7 separate regions of the Homo sapiens genome follow, and regions 1, 2, 3, 5, 6 and 7 are each linked to region 4. Evidence: promoter capture Hi-C in 16 types of primary human blood cells and fetal thymus (Javierre and others, 2016). All regions are on one chromosome and are shown on one strand. The core of a region is centred on a gene start or on the middle of the fragment in contact, and the rest is flanking DNA. Distances in the headings are between cores, read along the strand shown. Region 1 overlaps LINC00229 (long intergenic non-protein coding RNA 229). Region 2 has its middle 8.1 kb from the start of TTLL12. Region 3 has its middle 5.5 kb from the start of PRR5. Region 4 holds the start of SAMM50 (SAMM50 sorting and assembly machinery component). Region 5 overlaps PRR5 (proline rich 5). Region 6 has its middle 6.6 kb from the start of LINC00229. Region 7 holds the start of LOC124905132 (a long non-coding RNA gene).

What was found. Contacts are between HindIII fragments. The CHiCAGO score rates a contact against its expected background, and 5 or more counts as called.
Region 1: a contact is called between a fragment that was not itself captured here and the fragment with the promoter of SAMM50 in region 4, in 9 of 17 cell types (neutrophils, naive CD8 T cells, activated CD4 T cells and 6 more). The highest score is 7.4, in neutrophils.
Region 2: a fragment that was not itself captured here is called in contact with the fragment with the promoter of SAMM50 in region 4 in 1 of 17 cell types (endothelial precursors); the score reaches 5.2 in endothelial precursors.
Region 3: a fragment that was not itself captured here is called in contact with the fragment with the promoter of SAMM50 in region 4 in 4 of 17 cell types (naive CD8 T cells, activated CD4 T cells, total CD8 T cells and 1 more); the score reaches 6.3 in naive CD8 T cells.
Region 5: a contact is called between a fragment that was not itself captured here and the fragment with the promoter of SAMM50 in region 4, in 1 of 17 cell types (naive CD8 T cells). The highest score is 5.3, in naive CD8 T cells.
Region 6: a fragment that was not itself captured here is called in contact with the fragment with the promoter of SAMM50 in region 4 in 4 of 17 cell types (naive CD4 T cells, total CD8 T cells, naive CD8 T cells and 1 more); the score reaches 8.2 in naive CD4 T cells.
Region 7: a contact is called between a fragment that was not itself captured here and the fragment with the promoter of SAMM50 in region 4, in 11 of 17 cell types (naive CD4 T cells, non-activated CD4 T cells, naive CD8 T cells and 8 more). The highest score is 13.0, in naive CD4 T cells.

Annotation. Positions count from the first base shown.
Region 1 is chr22:44,610,270-44,614,169 of GRCh38, forward strand. The region is part of intron 3 of LINC00229 (long intergenic non-protein coding RNA 229); the gene reads right to left. Among named protein-coding and RNA genes, the nearest start is that of LINC00229, 13 kb to the right of the region's middle. The HindIII fragment of the contact is 5,035 bases long and covers 1-3,900 here.
Region 2 is chr22:43,193,397-43,197,034 of GRCh38, forward strand. No RefSeq gene overlaps it. Among named protein-coding and RNA genes, the nearest start is that of TTLL12, 8.1 kb to the left of the region's middle. The HindIII fragment of the contact is 895 bases long and covers 1,670-2,564 here.
Region 3 is chr22:44,694,987-44,698,360 of GRCh38, forward strand. It overlaps a transcript of PRR5 not described here. Among named protein-coding and RNA genes, the nearest start is that of PRR5, 5.5 kb to the right of the region's middle. The HindIII fragment of the contact is 4,492 bases long and covers 1-3,374 here.
Region 4 is chr22:43,954,161-43,957,547 of GRCh38, forward strand. SAMM50 (SAMM50 sorting and assembly machinery component) reads left to right here and starts at 1,282. Exons shown (of 15, transcript NM_015380.5): 1 at 1,282-1,438. The coding sequence starts at 1,418. It also overlaps the pseudogene RPL35AP36. RefSeq lists enhancers at 507-1,259, 927-976, 1,057-1,136, 1,260-2,011, 1,817-2,026 and a silencer at 1,100-1,374. The HindIII fragment of the contact is 6,277 bases long and covers 433-3,387 here.
Region 5 is chr22:44,737,235-44,741,074 of GRCh38, forward strand. PRR5 (proline rich 5) reads left to right here. Exons shown (of 8, transcript NM_181333.4): 8 at 1-447. The coding sequence ends at 13. All of the region lies in intron 4 of PRR5-ARHGAP8 (PRR5-ARHGAP8 readthrough), which reads left to right. Among named protein-coding and RNA genes, the nearest start is that of ARHGAP8, 13 kb to the right of the region's middle. The HindIII fragment of the contact is 6,756 bases long and covers 1-3,840 here.
Region 6 is chr22:44,630,083-44,633,949 of GRCh38, forward strand. No RefSeq gene overlaps it. Among named protein-coding and RNA genes, the nearest start is that of LINC00229, 6.6 kb to the left of the region's middle. The HindIII fragment of the contact is 9,177 bases long and covers 1-3,867 here.
Region 7 is chr22:44,665,468-44,668,803 of GRCh38, forward strand. It overlaps LOC124905132 (a long non-coding RNA gene), which reads right to left and starts at 3,116. Exons shown (of 3, transcript XR_007068127.1): 1 at 2,864-3,116; 2 at 2,117-2,202. It also overlaps a transcript of PRR5 not described here. The HindIII fragment of the contact is 1,445 bases long and covers 814-2,258 here.

The DNA.
Region 1 (3,900 bases), core at 382-2,881, 660 kb after region 4:
TTTCGTATAGTTCAATGTGATCATAATTATTAAGGTGTTAGGAGCCCTCTTAACAGAGCAGGCATCGTTCCAAGTTCTTTACACGTGTTTACTTCACCAGCATTTCTGACAGCCGTATCAGACGGCCCATGATGAGGACATAGAGCTCAGAGAAGTGAAGTAACTAACTCAATATCACACCTCTCCCACACACCTAACAGAATGGCTAAAATGAAAAATAATGACACCAGACACTCACAAGGATGTGAAGAACCCGGATCATGATATGCTGCTGCTATGGATGTCTTGGGACAGACACACTGGAAAAACAGCTTGGCTATTTCTTAAAAAATCTAAACATAGGCCGAGCGCGGTGGCTCACATCTGTAATCCCAGCACTTTGGGAGTTTGAGACCAGCCTGGCCAACATGATGAAACCCTGTCTACTGAAAATACAAAAAAATTAGCCAGGCATGGTGGTGCGTGCCTGTAATCCCAGCTACTCGGGAGGCTGAGGCAGGAGAATCGTTTGAACCCCAGAGGCAGAGGTTGCAGTGAGCTGAGATCGTGCCACTGCACTCCAGCTGGGCAACAAGAGCAAAACTCCGTCTCAAAAAAAAAAAAAAAAAAACTAAACATATAATTACCGGGTGACCCAGCAATTGCATTCCTGGGCACTCGTCTTAAAGAAATAAAACATCTGCACAAAAACCTGTACACAAGTGTTCATAGCAGCTTGACTTGTCATAGCCAAAACTGGAAACAGCCCTGATGTCCTTCATCCACCAATGGTTAAACAGGAACATCCAGGCCAGGCGCGGTGGCTCACGGCTGTAATCCCAGCACTTGGGGAGGCCAAGGCAGGCAGATCACCTGAGGTCAGGAGTTCGAGACCAGCCTGGCCAACATGGATAAACCCTGTCTCTACTAAAAACACAAAATTAGCTGGGCGTGGTGGCGCATGCCTGTAATCCCAGCTACTTGGGAGGCTGAGGCAGGAGAATCACTTGAACCCAGGAGGCAGAGGTTGCAGTGAGCCAAGATCATGCCATTGCAATCCAGCCTGGGCAACAAGAGGGAAATTCCATCTCAAAAAAAGAAAGAAAGAAAGAAACAGGAACATCCAGGCCGTGGGACCGTACTCTGCAGTAAAAAGGAACTATTAATCCACTCAGCAAGCTGGAGGAATCCAGGGAATTAGGCTGAGTGAATAAAAGCAATCCCAAAAAGTATGATGCAGCACAAGTCCGTGTATACATTTTTGTAATGAAAAAACTTTAGAATTGGAGGACAGATAGGTGGTGCCAGGGATTAGGGATGTGGAAGAGGGGTGGGTGTGGCCATAAAAAGGTAACTCCAACTCCAAGGATTCTCATGGTGATGGAGCTCTTCCACACCATGACAGGGGTGGTGGAGACAGGAACCTGCACAAATGATAAAGCTGTACAGAATTCACACACACACACACCCACGCACACACACATACACACTAGTACAGGCAAACTGGAGAAATCTGAATAGGATTGGTGGATTGCCCCAGTGTCCATTTCCTGGTTGTACTATTATTGTACTATAGTTTTGCAAAATATTGCCATCGAAGGAAACTGGGCAAAATGTGTAAAGGACACCTTCCTGTTCTTCTTTTTTTTTTTTTTTGAGACAGAGTCTTGCTCTGTTGCCCAGGCTGGAGTGCAGTGGTGCCATCTCTGCTCACTGCAACCTCTGCCTCCTGGGTGGTTATAAGTAAAATGCTTATTCCCTTAGAAATGCTTGTTCCTTGGTGCCAAAAAGAACAACTAGAGCTCAGACAAAGAATTTTCTCAGCAAGGCAACTTTGCTTTCTGCAGAAAGGGTGCTCCTCACAGATGCAGCAATGGCGAGAGCACACCTGAACAAAGGAGGGAAGCAATTTTTATCCCTTATGCGGTTTGTCCCTGCTACTGTGTCCTGTCTCCATTGGCTGGAGCTGGACCTCACAATCTAAGCTAAACCTGACTGGTTAATAACTTAAAACTTTCCTAAATAGGTAAAGTCAAGGGAGAACAAAGGAAAAGAGGAAGTTGCTTATGAAAAGACTTAGAGAAGTAATAACATTTCCAAATAAAGAAGGTGCATAAGCTGTGAGCTGGGACATGCCTGAGCATGTCTAGAACAAATACCTTGGTTAAAGTACAAGGACATAGAATGCACTCATTCCCTTATATCTAAAAGCTACCTAGGATAGGGCTTAACAAACAGTTATTAGCACAAAGCAAGGAGGCTTGAAGGAAGTTAGCCTTTAAAAGAAACTATTATTTCTAACACTTATGATTTATTCTTTAACAAGAAGGGAAACTTTGAAGAGGAATCTTTTTACTTTCCACACTGGGTTCCAGTGATTCTCCTGCCTAAGCCTCCTGAGTAGCTGGGATTACAGGGGTGCACCACCATGACCAGCTAATTTTTAGTAGAGACGGGGTTTCACCATGTTGGTCAGGCTGGTCTTGAATTCCTGGCCTTAAGTGATCTGCCCACCTCAGCCTCCCAAACTGCTGAGATTATAGGTGTGAGCCACTGCACCTGGCCTCCTTGCTATTACTTTTTTTTTTTTTTTTGAGACAGAGTCTCACCCTGCACTGGAGTGCAGTGGTGCGATCTCAGCTCACTGCAACCTCCACCTCCTGGGTTCAAGCGATTCTCCTGCCTCAGCCTCCCAAGTAGTTGGGACTATGGCCGTGTGCCACCTTGCCCAGCTAATTTTTGTATTTTCAGTAGAGACAGGGTTTCACCGTGTTGGCCAGGATAATCTCAATCTCTTGATCTCATGATCCTCCTGCCCCAGCCTCCCAAAGTGCTGGGATTAAAGGTGTGAGCCACCGCACCCGGCCTATTACTTCTTACAACTGTGTGTGCATCTACAATTATCTCTATGTTTTTAATTAACATTTTCTTTAAAGATGGCAAATTAAAAAAAAAAAAGGCTGTCACCACCCAGAGGAACCTAATGGGACATGACAACTAAATGTCATGTGGGATCCTGAGTGGGATCTTGGATCAGAAAAAGGATGTTAGGTTAAAAACGAACAAAACTGAATAAAATATGGGCTTTTGTTAATGAGAATGTTAGCAACATTGGTTTAATACTCGCATCAAATGTACCATGCTGATGCAAGATGCTAAAAATAGGAGAACTAGGGGCAGGGTGTGTGGGAACTCTCTGTATTATCATCTTAATTTCACTTGTAAGTCTACAAATGTTCTTTAAAAAAGTCTACTTAAAATTTTTTGAAGATACCAAATAACTACTTTATAAAAAGGTTTGAAAGCACCTGTGAAAGCTACATTGAGTCCAACCCTTTGACCCAGCAATTCCACTCCTAAATATATACCCAAAAGTAATGAGATCTTGTGTCCACCAAAGGCATATAAAATAAAATTCAGTCAGGCATGGTGGCTCATGCCTGTAATCCCAGCACTTTGGGAGGCTGAGGCGAGTGGATCACCTCAGGTCGGGAGTTCAAGACCAGCCTGGCCAACATGGTGAAACCCCATCTCTACTAAAAATACAAAAATTAGCTCGGCGTGGTAGAGCATGCCTGTATCCCAGCTACTCGGGAGGCTAAGGCAGGAGAATTGCTTGAACCCAGGAGGCGGAGGTTGCAGTGGGCCAAGATCGTGCCACTGCACTCCAGCCTGAGTGACAGAGTGAGACTCCACCTCAAAAAAAAAGAAAAGAAAATTCATAACAGCTTTTTTCAAAGTAGACAAAAACTGAAAACAAACCCAATATCCATCAATAGGAGAAGGGATGGTAAATTAGGTATATTCATACAATAGAATAATACAAATAAAAAGGGAACAAACAACTGCTCCTTTTTGTAAATGGGCAGATCTTGTGAGAATAACGATAAACAGAAGAACTCAGACAGAAATGGCTCTGGC
Region 2 (3,638 bases), core at 867-3,366, 760 kb before region 4:
TCCCTAGTAGCTGGGATTACAGGTGCCCACGGCTAAATTTTGTATTTTTAGTAGAGATGGGGTTTCACCATTTTGGCCAGGCCGGTCTTGAATTCCTGACCTCAAGCGATATGCTGGCCTTGGCTTGCCAGAGTGCTGGATTACAGGTGTGAGCCACTGTGCCCAGCCTCTTTGTCCATTTTTTTGTTGTTGATATAGAGACAGGGTCTTGCTTTGTTGCCCAGGCTGGTCTTGAACTCCTGGCCTCAAGTGATCCTCTTATCTTGGCCTCCCAAAATGCTGGGATTACAGGCATGAGCCTCTGTGCCTGGCCTTCTTTGTTCTTTTGTTTTTTGTTGTTGTTTTTTTGAGACGTAGTTTCCCTCTTGTCACCCAGGTTGGAGTGCAATGGTGTGATATTGGCTCACTGCAACCTCCTCCTCCTGGGTTCAAGTGATTCTCCTGCCTCAGCTTCCTATGTAGCTGGGATTACAGGTGCATGCCACCACGCCTGGTTAATTTTTTGTATTTTTAGTAGACATGCGGTTTCATCATGTTGGTCAGGCTGGTCTCAAACTCCTGACCTCAGGTGATTCGCCTTCCTTGGCCTCCCAAAATGCTGGGATTACAGCCACTGCTCCCAGCCTGTTCTTTTTTTTTTTTCTTTTCTTTTTTTTTTTTTTTGAGACGGAGTCTTGCTCTGTTACCCAGGCTGGAGTGCAGTGGCCCGATCTCGGCTCACTGCAACCTCCACCTCCTGGATTCACACCATTCTCCTGCCTCAGCCTCCCGAGTAGCTGGGACTACAGGCGCCTGCCTCCACACCCGGCTAGTTTTTTGTATTTTTAGTAGAGACAGGGTTTCACTGTGTTAGCCAAGATGGTCTTGATCTCCTGACCTCGTGATCCGCCCGCCTCGGCCTCCCAAAGTGCTGGGATTACAGGTGTGAGCCACCATGCCTGGCCGCCTGTTCATTTTTAAATTAGGTTATTTGTCTTATTGTTGAGTTGTAAGAGTTCTTTACATATCCTGGATACTGGAGTCTTATCAGATATGTGATTTGTAAAGGTTTTTTTCCTATTCTGTTATCTTTTCACTTTCTTCACAGAGCCCTTTGAAGTACAAGTTTTCAATTTTGGTGAAGTCCAATTTATATATTTTTTCTTTGGTGCCTTATTATTTGTGTGTTACATTTAAGAAGGCATTGCCTGGGTAGAGGGTGTACTGCTCAGGTGATGGGTGCACCAAGGTTTCAGAAATCACCACTAAAGAACTTATTCATGTAACCAAACACCACCTGTTCCCCCAAAACTTAACGGAAATACAAAAATTGAAGTTAAAAAAAAAAGAAGCCATTGCCTAATTCAAGATTCCAAAGACTTATTTATCTGTCTTAGTTTCTAAGAGTTTTATAGTTTTAGCTGTTACATTTCAGTCGTTGATCACTTTGAGTTGATTTTTTGTATAGGAGGTAGGGGTCCAACTTCCTTTCTTTTGCATGTAGATATCCAGTTGTCCTAGTACCATTTGTTGAAGAGACTATTTTTTCCCCATTAAATGGTTTTGGCACTCTCGTTGAAAACCAACTGATGGATGATAAATTTAAGGGTTCATTTCTGGACTCTGAATTCTATTCCATTGATCTGTAGGTCTGTCCTTCTGCTAGTACCACAAAATCTTGATTAATGTAAGCTTGTAGTAAGTTTTAAAAATGAGAAGCGTGAATCCTCCAATTTTGTTCTTTTTCAAGACTGTTTGGCTACTATGGGTCTCTTGCATTTCTATATGAATTTTAGGATTCGCATGTCAGTTTGTGCACGAAGCCAGCCTGGATGTTGATGGGGATTGCACTGAATCTCTAGACCAATTTGGGGAGTACTGTCATCTTGACAATACTGTCTTCCAATCCAAGAGTACAGATCTTCTTTAATTTCTTTTCTCTTTTTTTGAGATGGGGTCTTACTTTGTCACCCAGGGTGGAGTGCAGTGGCTGGATCTCGGCTCACTGCAACCTCTGCCTCCTAGGCTCAAGCGATCCTCTCACCTCGGCCTACCGAGTAGCTACGACCACAGGTGCGTGCCACCATGCCTGGCTAATTTTTTGTATTTTTGGTAGAGACAAGGCTTCTCCATGTTGCACTGGTTGGTCTTGAACTCCTGAGCTCAGGCTCTCCACCCACCTTGGCCTCCCAAAGTGCTGGGATTACAGGGGTGAGCCACTGTGCCCACCGTACAACTGATTTTTATATATTGATCTTATGTTCTGTAACCTTGTGAATTTCATCAGCTCTAGTAATTATTTGTGGATTCCTTAAGTATCTTCCATATAGAAGATCAGGACATGTGAAATGGATAATTTTGTTTCCGTTCCAATCTGGATGCTGTTTATATTTTTTTCCTGCCTAATTGTCCTGGCTAGACCTCCAGCAGAGCGGTGCAGGCACGCATCCTGGTCTTGTTCCTGCACATGTTGCTTTTAAGATATATCCCTTTTGTTGCAGGATGTTAATTAATTGTCATAGCTACATAATATTTAATTACGTGACTATGATGCAGTTTTCCACGAAGAGACTTAGGTTATCTTAAGCTTTTTGCTCTAATAAACATGAGGCTATGAATAGTTTTGTATATTTCCTGGAACATATATGTAAAAAAGAGATTCCCTATTTGTATACAGTAAGTTGATCCATATCCTCTCTGATTCTGATTTTATCACACTTATTATTGTTTTTTTGCCAACCTAGTGCTAACATGGCATATTTTTGTTGTCTCAATTTATATTTCCATTTGTGTGTGTGTGAAAGCAAGTTTATTAGAGAAGTAAAGAAACAAAAGCATGGCTACTCCTAGGCAGAGCAGCCTGTATTTCCATTATTATTAATGAGATTGAGCACCTTTTCAAATGGTAATTGGCTGTCCTGTTTCTTCTTCTGCGAAATGCATGTATATATCTTTTGTCAGTTTTTATTTTTTATTTTTCATTTTTTGTAGAGATGGGGGAGTCTTGCCATGTTGCCCAGGCTGGTCTCGAACTCCTGGACACATGCAATCCTCCTGCTTTGGCTTCCCAAAGTGCTGGGATTATAGGTGTGAGCCACTGCACCTGACCCTAGATTTCTTTTAGAACCTGAGGAAAGCTGTGGGCCATATTCCCAGAGAAATAGAAATGTGTATCTGTACATGCATGTGTACACACACACACACACACACACACACACACACACACAGCATTGCGTGCCGAATTTCAATGAGTCATAGATTCCCTGAGGCTCACTGTGACCATGACTTCCAGATTAAAGCCCCAGTGTCAAAGAACAACTCTTGGCCGGACACGGTGGCTCACGCCTGTAATCCCAGAACTTTGGGAGGCTGAGGCGGGCGGATCACGAGGTCAGAGATCGAGACCATCCTGGCTAACACGGAGAAACTCCGTCTCTACTAAAAATACAAAAAATTAGCCAGGCGTGGTGGCGGGCGCCTGTAGTCCCAGCTACCCGGGAGGCTGAGGAAGGAGAATGGCGTGAGCTCAGGAGGCGGAGCTTGCAGTGAGCCGAGATCACGCCACTACTCTAGCCTGGGCAACAGTGAGACTCTTGTCTGAAAAAAAAAAAAACAAAAACAAAACTCTCATTTCATCATGAGTTATGCGGGGAAATGGG
Region 3 (3,374 bases), core at 851-3,350, 740 kb after region 4:
ACGATGAAACCCCATCTCTACTAAAAATACAAAAATTAGCTAGGCGTGGTGGCAGGCACCTGTAATCCCAGCTACTCAGGGGACTGAGGCAAGAGAATCGCTTGAACCCAGGAGGCAGAGGTTGCAGTGAGCCAAGATCGTGCCAGTGCACTCCATCCTGGGTGACAGAGCAAGACTCTGTCTCAAAAAATAATAATAAAATAAGAAGGAGAGAGGGGCTGTCTACAAGAAAATCATATTTCTTCAGGAATCAGGCATTGCAATGGGAATTCGCATGCCATATTAAACTATGTGTTATGTTCAGGGACAAAGAAAGACAAAGGTTTTTAAAGGAAAAAGGAGGAGGATTACATAATTGTTTTGAGATAATTGTCCCTGGCTACAAGGATCAATAACAAGGGTGGCACCAGCCCGAGGTTGGACAGGCAGTTGCTGAGCAGATGTCCTCACAGAGGTATTTTTGGTGTGTGATTGCTATGGCCTTTGTGCAAGGTTGTGGTTTTTTAGAGCCTTTTGTGATCATTCTTGTTATCAGGCATTTTTATATAAGAAGCCTCTCTTCATGGCCTTTCCTGGCTCTATTTCTCAGGGGGTTTTGTTTGTTTGTTTTTTGTTTTTGTTTTTGTTTTGAGACAGAGTTTTGCTCCTGCCACCCAGGCTGGAGTGCAATGGCTCAGTCTGGGCTTACTGCAACCTCTACCTCCCGGGTTCAAGCAATTCTCTTGCCTCAGCCTCCTCAGTATCTGGGATTACAGATGCACACCAACATGCCCAGCTAATTTTTTTGTATTTTTAGTAGAGACAGGGTTTCACCATGTTGACTAGGCTGGTCTCGAACCCCTGACCTCAAGTGATCCACCCATCTCGGTCTCCCAAAGTGCGCCCAGCCTGTCAGGGTTTTTTTAAACACAAGTGATTCCATTTTGATTCTGACAACTTTTTTTTTTTTTTTTTTTTTTTTTGATACAGAGTCCCTCTCTGTCACCCAGGCTGGAGTGCAATGGCACAGTCACTGAAACCTCCACCTCCCAGGTTTAAGTGATTTTCCTGCCTCAGCCTCCTGAGTAGCTGGGATTACAGGCACACACCACCACACTTGGCTAATTTTTGTATTTTTAGTAGAGATGGGGTTTCACCATGTTGGCCAGGCTGGTCTGGAATTCCTGACCTCAGGTGATCCACCCGCCTCAGCCTCCCAAAGTGCTGGCATAACAGGCATGAGCCACCGCGTCCAGCCAATTCTGACAACTTTGACACAAAGGAGGTGGCAGAGCTGAGGGCAGACCCAGTTTGGGAGATTCCAAAACCTGTCTCTGCAATGCCATCCTCGAGCTTGGACAGTCACCTCCTTATACCACAGAGGCACCTATTGAGAGACTAGAATCAGGTTATAAAACACCTGCCCCAGAAGAGACTTTGGAAACCGATTGGTGTTCAAGACCTGGCTGACAGGTGGGAAGGTGGCTTGGAGAGAGAATCTTATGCAGGTGCATGTGTGACGTCTGGTGTATTAAGACCAGGGACCTGCTGGCCAGAGCCCCCTCCCCGGCCCCTAGAACTGAAATCCAGAACAAAAGGAGGGCACGTGTCTTGGGTGCACAGAACCAGACCACCAGGGTGGAGAAGGGCTCAGATGGAGTCCTGGTAGCTCAGCTGGTCAAGAGAAGACTTAAAGGAAGCGGTCCACCTTCAAACCTCAAGGCTGCTGTGGGACCAAGGAAGACATGAACTTACGTATTTATTTATTTATTTATTTATTTATTTATTTGAGATGCAGTCCTGCTCTGTCGCCCAGGCTAGAGTGCAGTGGCACGATCTTGGCTCACTGTAAACTCCGCTTCCAGGGTTCGAGCGATTCTCCTGCCTCAGCCTCCCTAGTAGCTGGGACTACAGGTGTGCACCACCATATCCGGCTAATTTTTGTATTTTTAGTAGAGACAGGGTTTCACCATGTTAGCCAGGGTAGTCTCCAACTCCTGACCTCAGGTGATCCACTGGCCTCAGCCTCCTAAAGTACTGGGATCACAGGCGTGAGCCACCACACCCGGCCAGGACATGAACATATCAGATGGCAGAGCTAGGAAGGGACGATGGGCTCACCTTCTGGTAGCAGGGACCATGTCTTTCTTGTTCCTTGCTGTGTTCCCCACACAGCCTCAGTTTCCCCAGTCGTGAAATGGGAATAATAACAGTTGATCCTGGCTCCAAGGCCACCAGGTCCGGTGGCCTGGTGCTTGGTGCCGGAGTCACCGCGAGTACCCTGGGCTCCCCCAGCGTGGTGGCCCTGACTCAGGAACCTCCTTCTGCCGTGCGACCACCCTGGCGGCGGTCACCAAGCCCTTGGCGTGCCCCTGTGACTGTGTGTGGATTTTTTCTGTGCCCTCACAGGGCAGTGGTGTCACCCTTCTCGCCCATCTCAGGGAAGGGATGGGACGGCCCGGATGGCAGAGACTGTGGGGACAGAGCCAGGCACTCCCCATGGCTTTCCGTGCCCAGCACGTTGCCAGGCCTCTTCCAGGGTGTCCGGGACTGACCAGGCTGCTCCTCAGGGGGCAGAAGGCACTTTTGGGTCGGCTTTGAGGGAACACCAGGCTTCGCCACCAGGGGGCGGACGTGCCCCTCCAGAGCAGGCAGTGCCTAGGAAAGCAGGCAGGGCGTGGGCAACTGAGGTCACCACCTGAGGGCCGTGCCCCGGGGAGAGTGGGCGAGATGGAGGCTGTCTCTCTCTCCCGCCCAGCCCGCAGGGCTCCAGCCTCAGCTCCCCCACTTGCTGACTCTGACCTCGGACATACGCCTCGGCCTCCCTGGGCCTCTGTTTGTCTGTCTGTAAAATGGGACTGGTCTCCCACTTGGCAGCCTTGTGGGGACGAGTCGGGGCAGTGTGTTTAGTGGCCGCCCCTGTATCATGCCTATAGTACCCCTCCCTGGGCCCCAAACTGGCCCCTTCAGGGGTATGCTGTCTCCTCCCTTTGGCTGGCCTGTGTCCCAGAGATCATGATGTCACTTGCAGTGCTGATGGACTAGAACTCAGAGTCCCGGGTTCATGAGCTGCCCTGACTTACTGGTCTGTTCCTGTCCCCTGGGTGTCCAGCCGGGGCTGAGCCAGGCTTAGGGATTGCAGGCCCTTCAGAAGGGTAGTTCTGAGGATATCAGGGTCCCCCTTGGTGACCAAGGGGATCCTCTACCAGCTGCCGACACCCCACTGGCCAGGGGGAGTTTGGAATGAGTTTGGGTCCTGGGGAGGAGAGGACGTGGTTGATGCCATCGGGCCTGGCACCTTCCTGGAGCAGGGGCCACTCTGGTGGCTTTGGGGATGTGTGAATGAGTCTGGAGCAGGGGTGGCTCTGGTGGCTTTGGGGTTGTGTGAATGAGTC
Region 4 (3,387 bases), core at 32-2,531:
GCAACCTCATGGCTTATCCTTTACAAGTGGCATACTCAGAAGAATAACGAGGAAGAAAGTGTAAGAAAAGAGGGCTGTTTGGGCAAAGAAAATCTGGTTGATTCGATGTTTACAGAGTGCCAGGCCCCATGCTTGATCTCATGAGGTCCTCAGACCTTATGCCTTAGGCTATCATTTCCATTTTACAGATAAGGAATTGAGGCTCAGGGAACTGAGAGTGAGGGAAGGGCAGGGGCCTGGCTGGTGCTGGGTTCTGTCTCTTTCCAGGCAAGAAGGGACATGTGGACTTGAATATTTAGCTCAGGGATGTTGGAGGCCTAGGGTGCTGCTATTTAAATGGAAAGGGTGTCAGGGTTTCTGGGAGGGAGTAAGGGGACAGAAGAAAAGATGCTTCTGTTATCAGAAGGGAGTGGCAACGTGACAGGATACTGAAGCTTCCTCTTTTCTTATTCTGTCTCGTTTCTTTCAATATACTTATCACAATGTGTGGCTGATATTTATTATGCCTTTTTCTTTTCTATTCTCTTTTCTTTTTTGGGGCAGGGGAGCTGTTTTGCCACCAAAACCTAAGCCCATGGCCGTCTTCTTCACCGATATGACTGGTTCTCATGCAAGCACCTAGATGGCCCTCGCCCATAATTACTGGCTGCAGTTGAGTGAATAGCGGTCATTATCTAGCGCCCACCGTGTGCCCGGCCCGGTGCCGGGAGCTTTGCTTTCCGTCTCTCACATTAGGCCCTTTTAATCCAACCCCCAAGAAGGAGACACGACCATCGTCTTCATTTTGACGATTTTGAGTGGGGGTTCCAATGACTTGAACGAAAGGAGCCAGGGCACCAATCCGGGTTTGTGTAGCAGATGCCGGTGAGACCCGACTACTGCAGCTCGGGGGTGGCCGGACCCGGGGTCTCCCCGCTGAGTCTCGGGGCTTCACCGGCGCGTGGGCACAAGCACAGCACCCTCGGGTCGGGGGTGCTAGGAGGGCTAAGAGCAGCAGGACTTGAGTGACACCCAACAGCTGGTCTGATCTCTTTCAGGCGCCAACGCCAGACGCCAGCCTCCCAGCGGACCCTCTCGCAGACCCACCTTCACCCCACGCGCCCTCCCCACACAGTCCACGCGCCAGCAGCTTCGCGGATGTCAGTGAACGCTCTTCGCTTGCGCAGTCAGAACGTCCTCCGCGGCCGTGTGAACATCCGGGTCACAGGCGCATAAGGACCAATGAGCGAAGGCATCGCGAGCCAGGGGGCGCGGAGAAGGCGGGGAATCATGGCCGCCCCCAGTGTTCCGCGTCCGGGGGTTTGTGGGAGTTGCCTTGACCTGCAGCTCCGCCACCGCGGACCCGCCTTCTGCCCTCAGCAGCAGACGCTCTGTCCCGCCCGGGCAGCTCTGCGAGGCAGCGGCTGGAGAGGGAACCATGGGGACTGTGCACGCCCGGGTAAGAGGCCCAGCGACCCGCGGGCTGCGAGGCCTCTGGGCCAGCAGGGCAGACGGGCGCCGCGGGGAGACGCTCTCGTGGCTGCGCCCAGGGTTCACCGGGAGAGAGGGTGCCAAGGGTGCCGGGCTGGGTGGAGGAGGCCGAAAAGAGGTCGCCTCGGGCCAGCGAGTCTTGCAGACCTTCGAGCAGGAACCTGATAGGAGGGACGAGACTTGGCTAAAGGTCACTCGGCGAGTCCGTGGCCCAAAGGACTTGCCAACTTTCTGTGATGTCTTAGACCGCAGTGAATGTGCTCTTTCTTTGCATGATTTTAAGTTTTCTCTCTTTACTGGTCACTTCCAGCCTTTCCCCGCTCAGCCGCTGCTGGAGCCATTGTAGGCTCCTAGAGCAACAAGAATCCTTTGAAGTCTTCTAACTCAAACCTATCTAGGGGTCCTCTTTTCTCCTGTCTACCGTGCAAAAGACGGAACCGCTCTCTGCCTTACTTCCTGTTTTAAAGTGGAGGTAGTAATAGTACCTACCTCGCCTGGCTTAAAAGAGAATTAAAAGACAATGCATGTGAATACTTGGGTGCCTGGCGCCTGACTAACTGTACTGGTTGCCAAACTCCTCTCGTTTATCCTAATCTTAAATAAGGGCCAGATAATGAGTTACTTCTCCAAGGTCACATAGTTACTGGTTCCAAATGGCCTAAAACCTCAGATTTCCTGAGTCTCAGCCCCAACACTACTTTTCTACTGCAACTTTGATTGCTTCACTTGACCTGCATAGACGTTTTCAGTAGTTCCCCATTAACTTCCAAAAAAATTTAGCACAGAAGTCGCAGCCTGACATCGATAATTGGACTTAACTTCCCTTTATATGTCTTTCATTCAGATCAAACACCGTTTCTCTTCTGACATCTCTTTGTGTAACTGTAATAGGTCTGTTGCTCAGTGTGCTCGATAAGTCAATACACTCAGACAGTGGGTTGCAGCAGAGAAAGAGTTTCAGTTGCAGGGCCGCTGAACGAGGAGATGGGAAAAGAGAGGAAACCTCAAATCCATCTCCTTCAGGAGTTTGGACCTCATGTTTTTGCTGAAGTGTGGAGATCCTTGATTGGTGGAAGAGTGAAGGGTGAAGTTATGGGACAGGGAGATGAGGAAACTTCTCATGCTGATTCCGTTCCTCTGTTGCGGGGAGGAGTCTTCAAACTGGTTGGCAGCATCAGTTTTGCTGGAATTCGAGATCTGAAAAACATCTAAAGCAACTCTTAAGCAAAAGCCTTATGATTCTAATTTTAGAAATCCTATCTGTAAAATCAATGGGGATGCAAATAGTATCTGTGACTTTTGGTTACTAGCAAGTAGGTCAGAGTGCAACCTGAGCTCTTCCTGCCATCTTGGCTCCTGTGGCGGCCTGCCGGGAGCAGGACTTCTGAAAGGAAATATGTCTGGAAGGCTGTGGTCCAAGGCCATTTTTGCTGGCTATAAGTGGAGTCTCCGGAACCAAAGGGAGCACACAGCTCTTCTTAAAATTGAAGGTGTTTATGCCCGAGATGAAACAGAATTCTATTTGGGCTCATGTATACAAAGCAAAGAACAACATAGTGACTCCTGGCGGCAAATCAAACAAAGCCAGAGTAATCTGGGGAAAGGTAACTCGGGCCCACAGAAACAATGGCATGATTCGTGCCAAATTCTGAAGCAATCTTCCTGCTAAGGCTGTTGGACACAGAATCCGAGTAATGCTGTACCCCTCAAGGATTTAAACTAATGAAAAGTCAATAAATCAATGTGGATTTGTGCTCTTGAAAAAAAAAAGGCAACTTGATTAATGGTTAATTGTAACTACATTTCTTTTGAGATGGAGTCTCACTGTGTTGCCCAGGCTGGAGTGCAATGGTGCAATCTCCACTCACTGCAACCTCCGCCTCCCAGGTTCAAGCGATTCTCCTGCCTCAGCCTCCC
Region 5 (3,840 bases), core at 378-2,877, 780 kb after region 4:
GAGTGTCGTGTGAGGCCTCACAGCTGGCCTTGAGTTTTTACTGACACGTCCCTGTGTGCGGGGGTGTCCATGTGGCGTGTGTGTGAGTGAGACTTTTTTACTGCGTCCCGTCCCGCCAGCCCTATCGGCCTCGTCACTGGCCTTGGTCACTTTGTATTTCTGTCTTGGTTGGAAATACCATCAGCCTTCCTTGCTCGGCCCAGGTCTGTTTCAGGCATCTGAGTCGGCGTTTACCCAGGGGCCGGGCCAGAGACGGGGGTCGGCCGCTCGCTCCCACGCTCCTCCTGCCCCAGCCCTCTGGTGTCCACACCTGCCCACAGAGAATGTAAACCCAGTGGGCTCTGCCCACGCCGGGCCCCAAAGTGACCAGACTCCAGCACACCTGTCTCCTCCTGCCTGGGGTGGCCATGGGGATGGAAGGGGGTGGAATAAAACCTGTCAACCTGGCTCATGTCTGCAGTGCCTGCCCTGGGGGCGCCCCTTCAGGGTGCTCACCCTCAGGCCTTCGCTCCCTTCTAGGGAGCGCAGGTTTCCAGGGTCTGTGTGGAGGGGGCAGACCTGTGCCTGTTGTCCAGGCCTCCCTACTGCTCCACCGTCCCTGTCCCTGATGGGAGGACCGGGAGGTTGTGGAAGGAAGGGCTGGGATGCTAGGGAGTGGGGCTGGCCCTGCCGCACAGGAGTCTGGCCCTGACTTTGCCCCTGGCCTTAGCAGGGATGGACTCACTGAAGCCTTTGAAGGAGGGAAGGAGGGGTGGGGGCGGGATCTGCCAGCTCCTCCCGTGCTACAGAAGCGTCCAGGTGGCCTAGGGGGTGGGGGTGACCTGCTGAAGGCCATCCGGCCTGGGAAGCACAAACTAACACCTGCTCTGACCTCCCCTGCAGCCTCACTATCCCCAGACAGGCTTTCCCCGGGCCCTCAGGTGGGCAGGATACCGCATCAGCCGTAGCAGGCAGGGCTCTTTGTTCCCCCGTCAGTGGGGCCCGAGTGTTACTGAGAGCCAAAGGCCAGCCCAGCACCACGGGCACCCCTACTATCGGGGCAGGAGCTGAGCCTGGGGCAGCCTTCCCTAGCCACCCCCGCCGTTTTAAAGCATCGGGTCAGCGTGGCCTCCATGGGGAGGGGTGGAGGGGTCTCTAACGGCGGGCACCTTTCCACACCCCGTTCACCTGCTGATCTGCCACCCCCGCAGCCTTCCACGCGCTCGCCTCTCATGGCGTTTTCTCAAGGTGGGAAAGGAGTGCTGAGCAAATGAAGGACAGGCCCAGGGCAGGGGAACCAGGTGTGATTGGAGGGAGAGGGTGGGTGTGAGCCGGGCGTGAGCAGGAGGACGTCACCTGACCCCTGAGTCACGGCCGGAGCTGGCCCAGGCTGTCTCCCAGCAGAGCCTTCTGGATGGAGGAGTTTCCCTCTCTGGTGGGAGAAGCAGACCTGGCGCCCCTGCTTCAGCTCAGGATAGGAGGGTGTAGGGGTGGGGGCAGGGGGAGCTCTGGCTTTCTGACTCTGCTGAGCCGCAGTTTTGTCATCTGTGATACGGGTGCATACCAACCCTGTGGAGCTCTCTGAAGCTACTCGGAATGGGTAATGTGCCCCAGGCAGGGCTCAGCTGGGCAAGTAGGGGAGCAAGAGCAGCCTCGGGACCCAGGCCTGGGGGACAGGTGGTCGTTGAACAGAAAGCCAGAACCTGGTCTGAGAACCACTAAGCCAGGCTGATGAGGCCGAGATCCGTGGACCAACCTCTTTGGCTCCCAGCTCCATCATGGAGCCCGAGGTGGCCTGAGGCGGGGAGTAGTGGGTGACCATTAGCAACATGGGCAGGAGGGTTCCCAGCGGTCACCTCAAGGCAGGAGGACCAAAGACCAGAAGCCGTGGCAGGGAGTTGCTGTCTGGGCTCTGTCCACACCAGGGTGCTAGACCCTGTGTTCTGTCCCCTGAGTGGTGGGGGTTCCATCGTGGGGGGTCGAGCATCCCTGGCCCCTGGATGCTGCCGGGCCTGGGGTGGCCCAGGGACTGGTGGCCCCTGCTGGCTGGCACTTGGACCCTTGGCAAGGCAGTCCCTAAGCTCTCAGTCCTCCTGCCCTGGGGCAGGAGGGGAGGCCCCTGGGCAGCAGCCAGCAGCATCCCCAACCACAGATTGGGGGGCTGCAGTCCAGGAGGGTGGGTGCTGGGCCTGGGCCCTGCAGCAGCTCACAGGACTCAGTGGGGGCCCCAAGGAGGTGAGGAGGCTGCACTCCCACTCCCAGAAAGCAGCAGCCCACCAAGAGGGTGTGTGTGTGTGTCCTAGCCTTGTTCCCAAAGATGTCAGAGGTGATCTGCATTCAGACATCTTATAAATTGGTAAACACCTGTAATCCCAACAGAGTCTCGCTCTGTCACCCAGGCTGGAGTGCAGTGGCGCAATCTCATCTCACTGCAACCTCTGCCTCCTAGGTTCAAGTGATACTCCTGCCTCAGCCTCCCGAGTAGCTGGGGCTATAGGCATGCATCACCATGCCTGGCTAATTTTTCTATTTTTAGTAGAGACGGGGTTTCACCATGTTGACCAGGTTATTCTTGAACTCCTGACCTCAGGTGATCCGCCCACTTCGGCCTCCCAAAGTGCTGGAATTACAAGCATGAGCCACTGCACCCGGCCCTTATTTATCTTTTAAGGAATAGAGTGACTCAGGGAAGAGGCGTGGGAGACCGTGTGCTCCATCCTGTTTGGTCTTCAAGGCATCCTCCTGGAGAGCTGCGCCTTGTCACAGTCAGGGCTCGATGAAATTATGTTGACAACAGAAATGAGCAGACACGGCTTCTTAACATTTGCTGTTCTGTCTTCCACACCCTAAGGTTTGTTAAACGAGTGAAATCGGTGGTTAATTAGTTAGTGGTTGGTCTACCATCGGCATCACCGGGGTGTCCAGTGGGGTGGATTCCTCTGCATCTCCAGGGCTGGGGTTCTAGAAACTGCTTTATCGTTGTTGTCTTTTGTGTGCTTGTTGTAAGTTTTGTGCAGGATTCTCGTGAACGCTCTACCCCTTACCTCTCAAATGCACAATCTCAGGCCCTGGCCCCATCTGCTGACCCTAAATCTGCATTTCAGCCCCGCCTTGGGGTCCGTGGGCCTGCCGGGACATGTGAGCCTCACCTGCACTGTGACAGCGTCTGGGGTGGAGGTGGCACTTAGGAAAACCCAGGGTGGGTTACGATAGGCTTCCCAGTGACCCTGACTGCACCCCTGCTGAGAGCTCAGATTTGTTTGGGCGTCCGTGTGTGTGTGTGTGTGTGTGTGTGTAAGTGGGTAGGTGTGTGTGTCTGCACGCACGCACAAGTGTTTGGGGGTGTGTGTGTGCGCGCGCGCGAGAGTGGATGGGTGGGTGTGTGTGTGTGTGTGTGTGTGTGTGTGTGCAAGTATACACCACACAGCAGCTAAGCCCTGGTAGGAGGTCTCAGAGGCGGGTCCATTGGAGTGCTGATGCCCACCCCGCGTGCCCTCTCAAGCACCCACTTTGGACCCCGTGATATTCATCTCCAGAAGGAATAGCTCCGTTTCAGGAAAGTGCTGCTGGGTGGGCTGTGGCCCAGGAATCACGAGGTAGGGGGCAAACATGCTCTCTGGATGTGCTGGCCCTGGGAAGAGGAAGAGGAGGAGTCCCAAGGTGGAGATGCCTGCAGCCGAAGGCCCTCCCAGAGAAGGGAAGACTCCAGAAGAAGAGAGAGGGACTGGGAAGCGTGTAGGCCAAAGGGGTGCCCACAATAAGCGTGGGCCCATTTGTCATTTTCCATCTGACCATGAAAGTAATAGCTTACAGCCAGGCACGGTGGCTCACACCTGTGGACCTAGCACTTTGAGAGGGCAA
Region 6 (3,867 bases), core at 146-2,645, 680 kb after region 4:
TGCACCTTTCAATCAGTTCAACTCTGAACCTAGAACTGCTCTAAAAATAAAGTCTATTAATTTTGTTAAGGCAGATTGAGAGGTACCATTAAGGATACGCAAGAAGTAGGGGGCCAGGAGTGTGTAGGGGCCCCATCCTGTCTGGGAGACTCAGCAGTCACCCAGCCAAGCCAAGCTCAGTGTCTGTGTCTGCAGGGGGTATCCCTGACAGAGTCCCAGGAGTGTCTTGGAAAGGGGAGGTCACGAAAGGCCTTTGTAAGTCAGGGTCCTGGGTCTAAGCAGTTTGTGGAGATGGACTGGGACTGGGTGAACCTAGTGACACAGCAGAATGGCACTGGGGACGCAGTGAGGCGTGGGTTTCAAGCATGTCCTGGTGAGAGAGCAGTCATTTCACGAGCAAGCAGCTCACCCAGTGAGGTGAGCTATTGTTCAGATAAATGGATTCCAGGAAGTTCCTGAAACAAGAAAGTCCTTTGCAACTGTGTCTTCCTGAGCAAGGATTTTCTGGAATGGCCTGGTCATAGTATCACGTGCAGTTGTAGCTCTCGGTTGGATGAGCTATGGGCTGGCGGTTTGTTCTTAGGCCCTAGAGGATGGACCCAGGGACTGGCAAGGGCAAAACCTGAGGCTCCAAAGAGCTCAGAGGAGAGCAGGGAGTCAATCACATGAGGCCTCAGTTTTCCCATCTATAAAATAGATGGTGGCCTGCGTGGATTCATAGGGCCCTTCTAGCTCTCCTGGATGAGTCTGTTTGAATCCAGGCCCTGGGGAGGAGGGATGGGTGGGGGCTGGGAAGTCGCCCATGGGAGATCACAGTGGAGCAGTGACAGAGGCAGAGTTGGATCCAAATGTCCCAACGCCCAGTCCAGCCTGCTCCCTGGCCCCTCTCCCTGACCAAGAAGGGTGGGGAGCCAGGAGTGGGGCTGGGCCTTCCAGAGACACAACCACCTCATCCCTCCCTACAGCCCACCAGTCTGAGACCCTGGTTCCTCTGCCTCTCTCGGCTCCTTGTCCTGTGGCCAGCCCATGCCTGTCACCTCATGGCCAGCCCCTGGCTGTCACCACCTCTCCTTGCATCCCCCTGGGCCTAACCCACTCCCTCAAATCCATTCCCTGTGCTGGGAAGATCCATCTTAGCAAAACTCAAGTCTGATCCTGTCACTCACCTGCTCAAAAACCCCCATGGCTCCCCATTGCCCTGTAGACAAAGACTCTCCTCACCGTATCGGAATCCTAGCTGCCTATGTTGTGTATATTGATCCCAAAATTCACATGGAAATGCAGCGGGCCCAGAAAAACCAAACAATCTTGAAAAAAAAAATAGGAGGACTCATACTTCCCAACTTCAAAACTTACAGCAAAGCTACAGCTATCAAGATGGTGTGGTACTGGCATAATTAAAGACATATAGGTCAATAGAACAGAGTAAGAGTTCAGAAATAAACCCATACATACATATATGGCCAATCGATATTCAACGAGGGTGCCAAGACAATCAAAGAAGAATCATCTTTCAACAAATGGAGCTAAGACAACTGGGTATCCACATGCAAAAGAGTGAAGCTGGACCCCTACCTCACTCCATATACAAAAACTAACTCAAAATGGATCAAAGACAGCCATGGAAGAGTTGCCACTACAAAAATCAGAAGAGGTCAGGTGCCAATCTTCGTGACTGAATTAGGCAAGAGTTTCTTCGTTGTGACACCAAAAGCACAAGCAATGAAAGAAAAAACATAGAAAATGGATTTCATCAAAATGAAAAACTTGTGCTTTGAAGGACATTCACAAGAAAGTGACAAAACAGCTCAAAGAATAGAAGGAACTATTTGTAAACCACATATCTAATACAGATATAGTATTTAGACTATATAAAGAACTACTACAACTCAATAATTTAAAAAAACAAATATCCACATTAAAAAGTGACCAAAGGAGGCTGGGCACAGTGGCTTACACCTATAATTTCAGCACTTTGGGAGGCCAAGGTGGGGTGATCACTTGAGGTCAGGAGTTCGAGACCAGCCTGGCCAACATGGCAAAACCCTGTCTCTACTAAAAATACAAAAATTAGCGGGACATGGTGGCGGGTGCCTGTAATCCCAGCTACTTGGGAGGCTGAGGCAGGAGAATCACTTGAACCCAGGAGGCGGAGGTTGCAGTGAACTGAGATCACACCACTGCACTTCAGCCTGGGTTATAGAGTGAGACTCTGTTTCAAAAAAAAGTGACCAAAGGATTTGAAGATACACTTCTCTAGACAAGACATACTCATGGCAACAGGCACGTGAAAAGGGGCCTGATATCACTAGTCATCAGAAAAAATGCAAATCAAACCCACAATGTCACAGCACTTCACAATCACAATGATGGCTATACCAAAAAAAAAGAAATGACAATAACAAATTGAGGCAAGGATGTAGTGAAATTAGAGCCCTCATACATTGCTGACGGGAAGGTAAAATAGCGCAGGAGGTTTGAAGAAAAGCCGGGAAGTTCCTCAGAAAATTAAACATAGAGTTACAGCAATCTCACCCCAGATATCTACTCAAGAAAACAGAAACACATGTCCACACAAAAATGTACACTTGAATGTTTACAGCAGCACTATTCACAACAGCAAAATATGGAAACAATCCAAATTTCCATCAACAGAAAATGGATAAACATAACGTGCTATGCACATCCAACCATAAAAAGGACTGAAGTCCTAACAAGTGACACATCGTGGGTCAACCTTCAAAACATGGTGCTCAGTGAAAGAAGCCTGACATGAAAGGCCACAGATTCTAGGTTTCCTTGTGTATGAAATGTCCAGAATAGGGAAACCTACAGAAACAGAAAGATTGGTGATTGCCAAGTGCTGGGGGTATGGGGGAAGGGGAAGTATCTACTAACGGGAACAGAGTTTCTTTCAGGGAGATGTAAAGGTTCTGGAATTAGATTGGTGGTTGCACAATCTTGTGAATATACTAAAAACTACACTGTATGCTCTAAGAGGGTGAATTTTGTGATATATGACTTGACCTCAGGTTTTATCAAAGGCCCTCCAGACTCCTTAGCTGGCATTTGGGAGCCACCCCAGCAGGTCCCACGGCCTCTCCTGCCTCATCTCTCACTCAAACCTCCTAACCACATCCTCATCCTCTACCACCCTGGGAACCCTGTGAGGTCACACCCCACCCCCACTGAACAACCCCATCACAGCCCTCATCACCCAGCATTGGGGTGGTGAACTGTCCTCCACCCCACCGTGAGCTCCCCTGGGTCAGAGACCAGGCTGGCTACCCCTGTGTCCACAGCACCCAGCAGGGGCCCCATAGATCCACAGAGTAGACATCAGACAAAGAGCAGAGGTGGATGAATGGATAGATAGATGTTTGGATGGGTGATGGATAAATGAATGGATGGATGGGTGGATAGTTGGATGGGGGGATGGAAGATGACTGGATGAATGCATGGAAAATGGGTAGGTGGATCAGTGGATGGATGGATGAATGAATGATTGAACAGATAAATTGATGGATGGATAAATGAGTGGATGGATGATGAATGGATAGATGAACGGATGGTTGGATATAGGTGGAAGGATGATAGGTGGATGGATGGGTGGATACATAGTTAGCTGTGGGGGATGAGTGATGGTGAATGAATGGATGGATGATTGAACAGATGGACGGATGGATGGATGGATGGATGGATGGATGGATAGATGAGTAGATGGATGATGAATGGATACATGCATGAACAGTTGGATGGGTGGGAGGATGATGGATGGATGGATGGTTGGATGGATGGGGGGATGGATATACGTGGATGGATAGATGATGGGTGGATACCTGGATGAAAGAATGGATGGATGAATGG
Region 7 (3,336 bases), core at 286-2,785, 710 kb after region 4:
CACAAATGACGTGGCCAGAACCACGCACCATGGGGTCATGTATTCATTTACTCACTGATTCTTTCAACAAATACCTATTAGCCACCTTCTAATACGTGCCAAAGACTGTTTCCAAACACCCAGAGATACTTTGGGGAAGAAAAGAGACAACTCTCCTCTCTCTCAGGGAATTCATGAATTTCTGAATAAACTACACCATAAAGAAATAACCAGCCGGGCGCCGTGGCTCACGCCTGCAATCCCAACATTTTGGGAGGCCGAGGTGGGAGGATCACCTGAGGTCAGGAGTTCAAGACCAGCCTAGCTAACATAGTGAAACCCTGTCTCCACTAAAAATACAAAAAATTAGCCAGATGTGGTGGCGCGCGCCTGTAATCCCAGCTGCTCGGGAGGCTGAGGCAGGAGAATCGCTTGAACCCAGGAGGCAGAGGTTGCAGTGAGCCAAGATTGTGCCACTGCACTCCAGGTTGGGCAACAAGAGTGAAACTCCATCAAAAAAAAAAAAAAAAAGAGAGAGAGGGAGAGAGAGAGAGAGAGAGAGAGAGAGAGAGAGAGAAAGAAATTTAATGAACATTTTTTAAAAAAAAAATCCAATTAGAAAATAGGCAAAAGACATGAACACACCTACCACTCATAGGATTTACAGATGGTAAATAAGCTCTCAAGATCGTTTTGAATCTTTAACATCAATAGTCGTTAGAGGAAGGCAAATTAAAACCATGAGATCTCACTACACACCTATCAGCATGGCAAAAATAAAACACAGGGACAAGACGAAATGCTGGTAGGGATGCAGAGAAACTGGATCACTCAAGCTTTGCTGCTGGGAAGGCAAAGTGGTACACTCTGGAAAACATTTTGGCAGTTTCTTAAAAATCTAAACATGCAACTCCCATACGACCCAGCAATTACACTCCTGGGCACTCTTCCCAGACAAATGAAAACTTATGTTCACACAAAAACCTGTACACAAATGTTTATAGCAGCTTTATTGGTAATAGCCCCAAACTGGCAATCAACCCAGATAGTCTTCGACAAGTGAATGGCTAAACAAATTATGATGCACCCATTCCATGGAATGCTGACCACTCCACAATAGCAAGGAACAAACTACTGAAACACAAAGCAACCTGGAAGAATCTTCAGGGATTTATGCTGAGTGAAAAAAGCAATCTCAAAAGGTAACATACTGTATGACTGCATTTATATAACATGCTTGAAATGATAAAATTACAGAAATGGAGAACAGATAAGTGCTTGCCAGGAGGGAGGAGGGAGGGAGATAAGCACATAAAAAGTCCACGGGGGGGTCCTTTGCTGATGGAATGTTCTGTACCTTGATGGCATCTATGTCAATATCCTGGTTGTGATATTGTAGTATAATTTTGCAAGATTTTACCAGTGGAGAAAACTGGGTCCAAGACATCTCTACTGTTTCTTATAGCTGCATGTGAATCTACAATTATCTCAAAATAAGAAAGTTTAGGCTGGGCGTGCTGCCTCACACCTGTAATCCCAGGATTTTGGGAGGCCCAGGCGGGTGGATCACCTGAGGTCAGGAGTTTGAGACCAGCCTGGCCAACATAGTGAAACCCTGTCTCTACTAAAAATACAAAAATTAGTCGGGCATGGTGGCAGGCACCTGTAGCCCCAGCTACTCAGGAGGCTGAAGCAGGAGAACCACTCGAAATCAGGAGGCAGAGGTTGCAATGAGCCAAGATGGCACCACTGCACTCCAGCCTGGGTAACAGAGCGAGACTCGGTCTCAAGAAAAAAAAAAAAGAAAGAAAGAAGGAAAGTTTAATTAGAAGTGGGGGAGGTCCTAGTGGTCACACACCAAGAGGCTGGATTAGATGACCTCAAAGGTCCCTCCAAGGCCAGGACATCCCTCTTGGCAGCACGGGGCTCAGAACAGCTCCACCTCCTTCTGGCACCTCTTGGGCCGTTTCCAGCCCCACCCCAGTACTCGATCCAGGCACTGTCTGCCCAGTCTAGATGCCACCCAGACACTTTAGGCCCCTCTGTCCAGATGCCCTCTCCTCCCTCTAGGATGCCCCATCCTGCAGTTCAGGCAGAGCTGCTCACTCCCAGGGCCCTATGGACCCCATTAGAGTACCTGGGGTCTGGCCGGGATGCTTGCTGTCCTGAAATCTGGTCACCAGGAAGGCCGGCCATCTGATCTGCCTCATGTCAACACTGTTTCTGGGGGATGAGTGGCTTAGCGTCAAACAAGCACAATGATGGAAGGGGAAAAAAAAAGCTTTACAACTGAATATGGACACAAATATTTGCACAATTGCATTCTAAAACATTAAAACAATCACTACACCAAAACACAATAACCATAACCATCACCGCCCGAATGCCCACAGCCTGGCCTCTGGTACAGGACTTGCGGCTTCTACCAGGCACTGACTGTCAATCCTTTCGGGGATTCCTGGGACAGACACCACTGCTCCCCGCCCACTGCCCCCACCACAGCCACGTACCAACGGAGAGGTACTTAAACAGGGTGAGGCTGTTTAAGTGAAGAGTGAAAAGAAGCCCTTTTCGAGACACTGGGGTGTGGGATGTGGGTTGTGGGGTGCAGGATGTGGGGTGCTGGATGTTTCCACCAGGGCAGTTCTTCTCAAACTTTACTGAACTCTGGAACCACCCAGAAGGCTTGTTAAAATAGGGGGCCCAACCCCGAGTTTTGCTTCTGTAGGTCCGGGGTGGGGCCAGGGACTCTGCACTAACGGAGGCCACACTTTGAGAACCACAGCCCTGGGCTGTTTTTGGTGCCAGGCCCATTCGTCTTCCCCTCCCTCCCCGCTCCGCCCGCGGCTGGACCCCGATCCCCGGGACAGGGACTGAGTCTGACCGTCTGATTTGTCCTCCCGGCTTCTAGCGCCCCGCTCAGGTCGGGGCTTGGGGAGGGGGCGCTCTCTGGACGTTTGCGGCCCGCCGAGGGGTGGGGTGAGGGCGTCACGGGCCGATCCGGGCCGCCGGGTGACCCGGGACGCCCCCTGCCCCGGCGGGCGCCGCCCACAGCCTGCGCAGTGCTCAGGGGCGGAGGCCGGGAGGGGGCCCAAGCGCCAGCCCCCCAGCTCCGGCGGACCCGGGTGGGCGTGCCCGCGGACCCGCTTGCCGCACTTAGGCGAGTCTCCCCTGCAGCGCCCCGAGTCCCTGGGGGCTGCGGCGGCTGCGGGCGCCCCCGCGCGGGCCCGAGGGGCGGGACGCGGCGGAGCGGGGCGGGGCGGGGCCTCCGCGGCCCCCTCCCCCGGCCCCGGGCTCCGGCTCCGGCTCCGGCTCTGGCTCTGCGCGGTGGCAGCGGCGGCGGCGGCGCGGGGACCG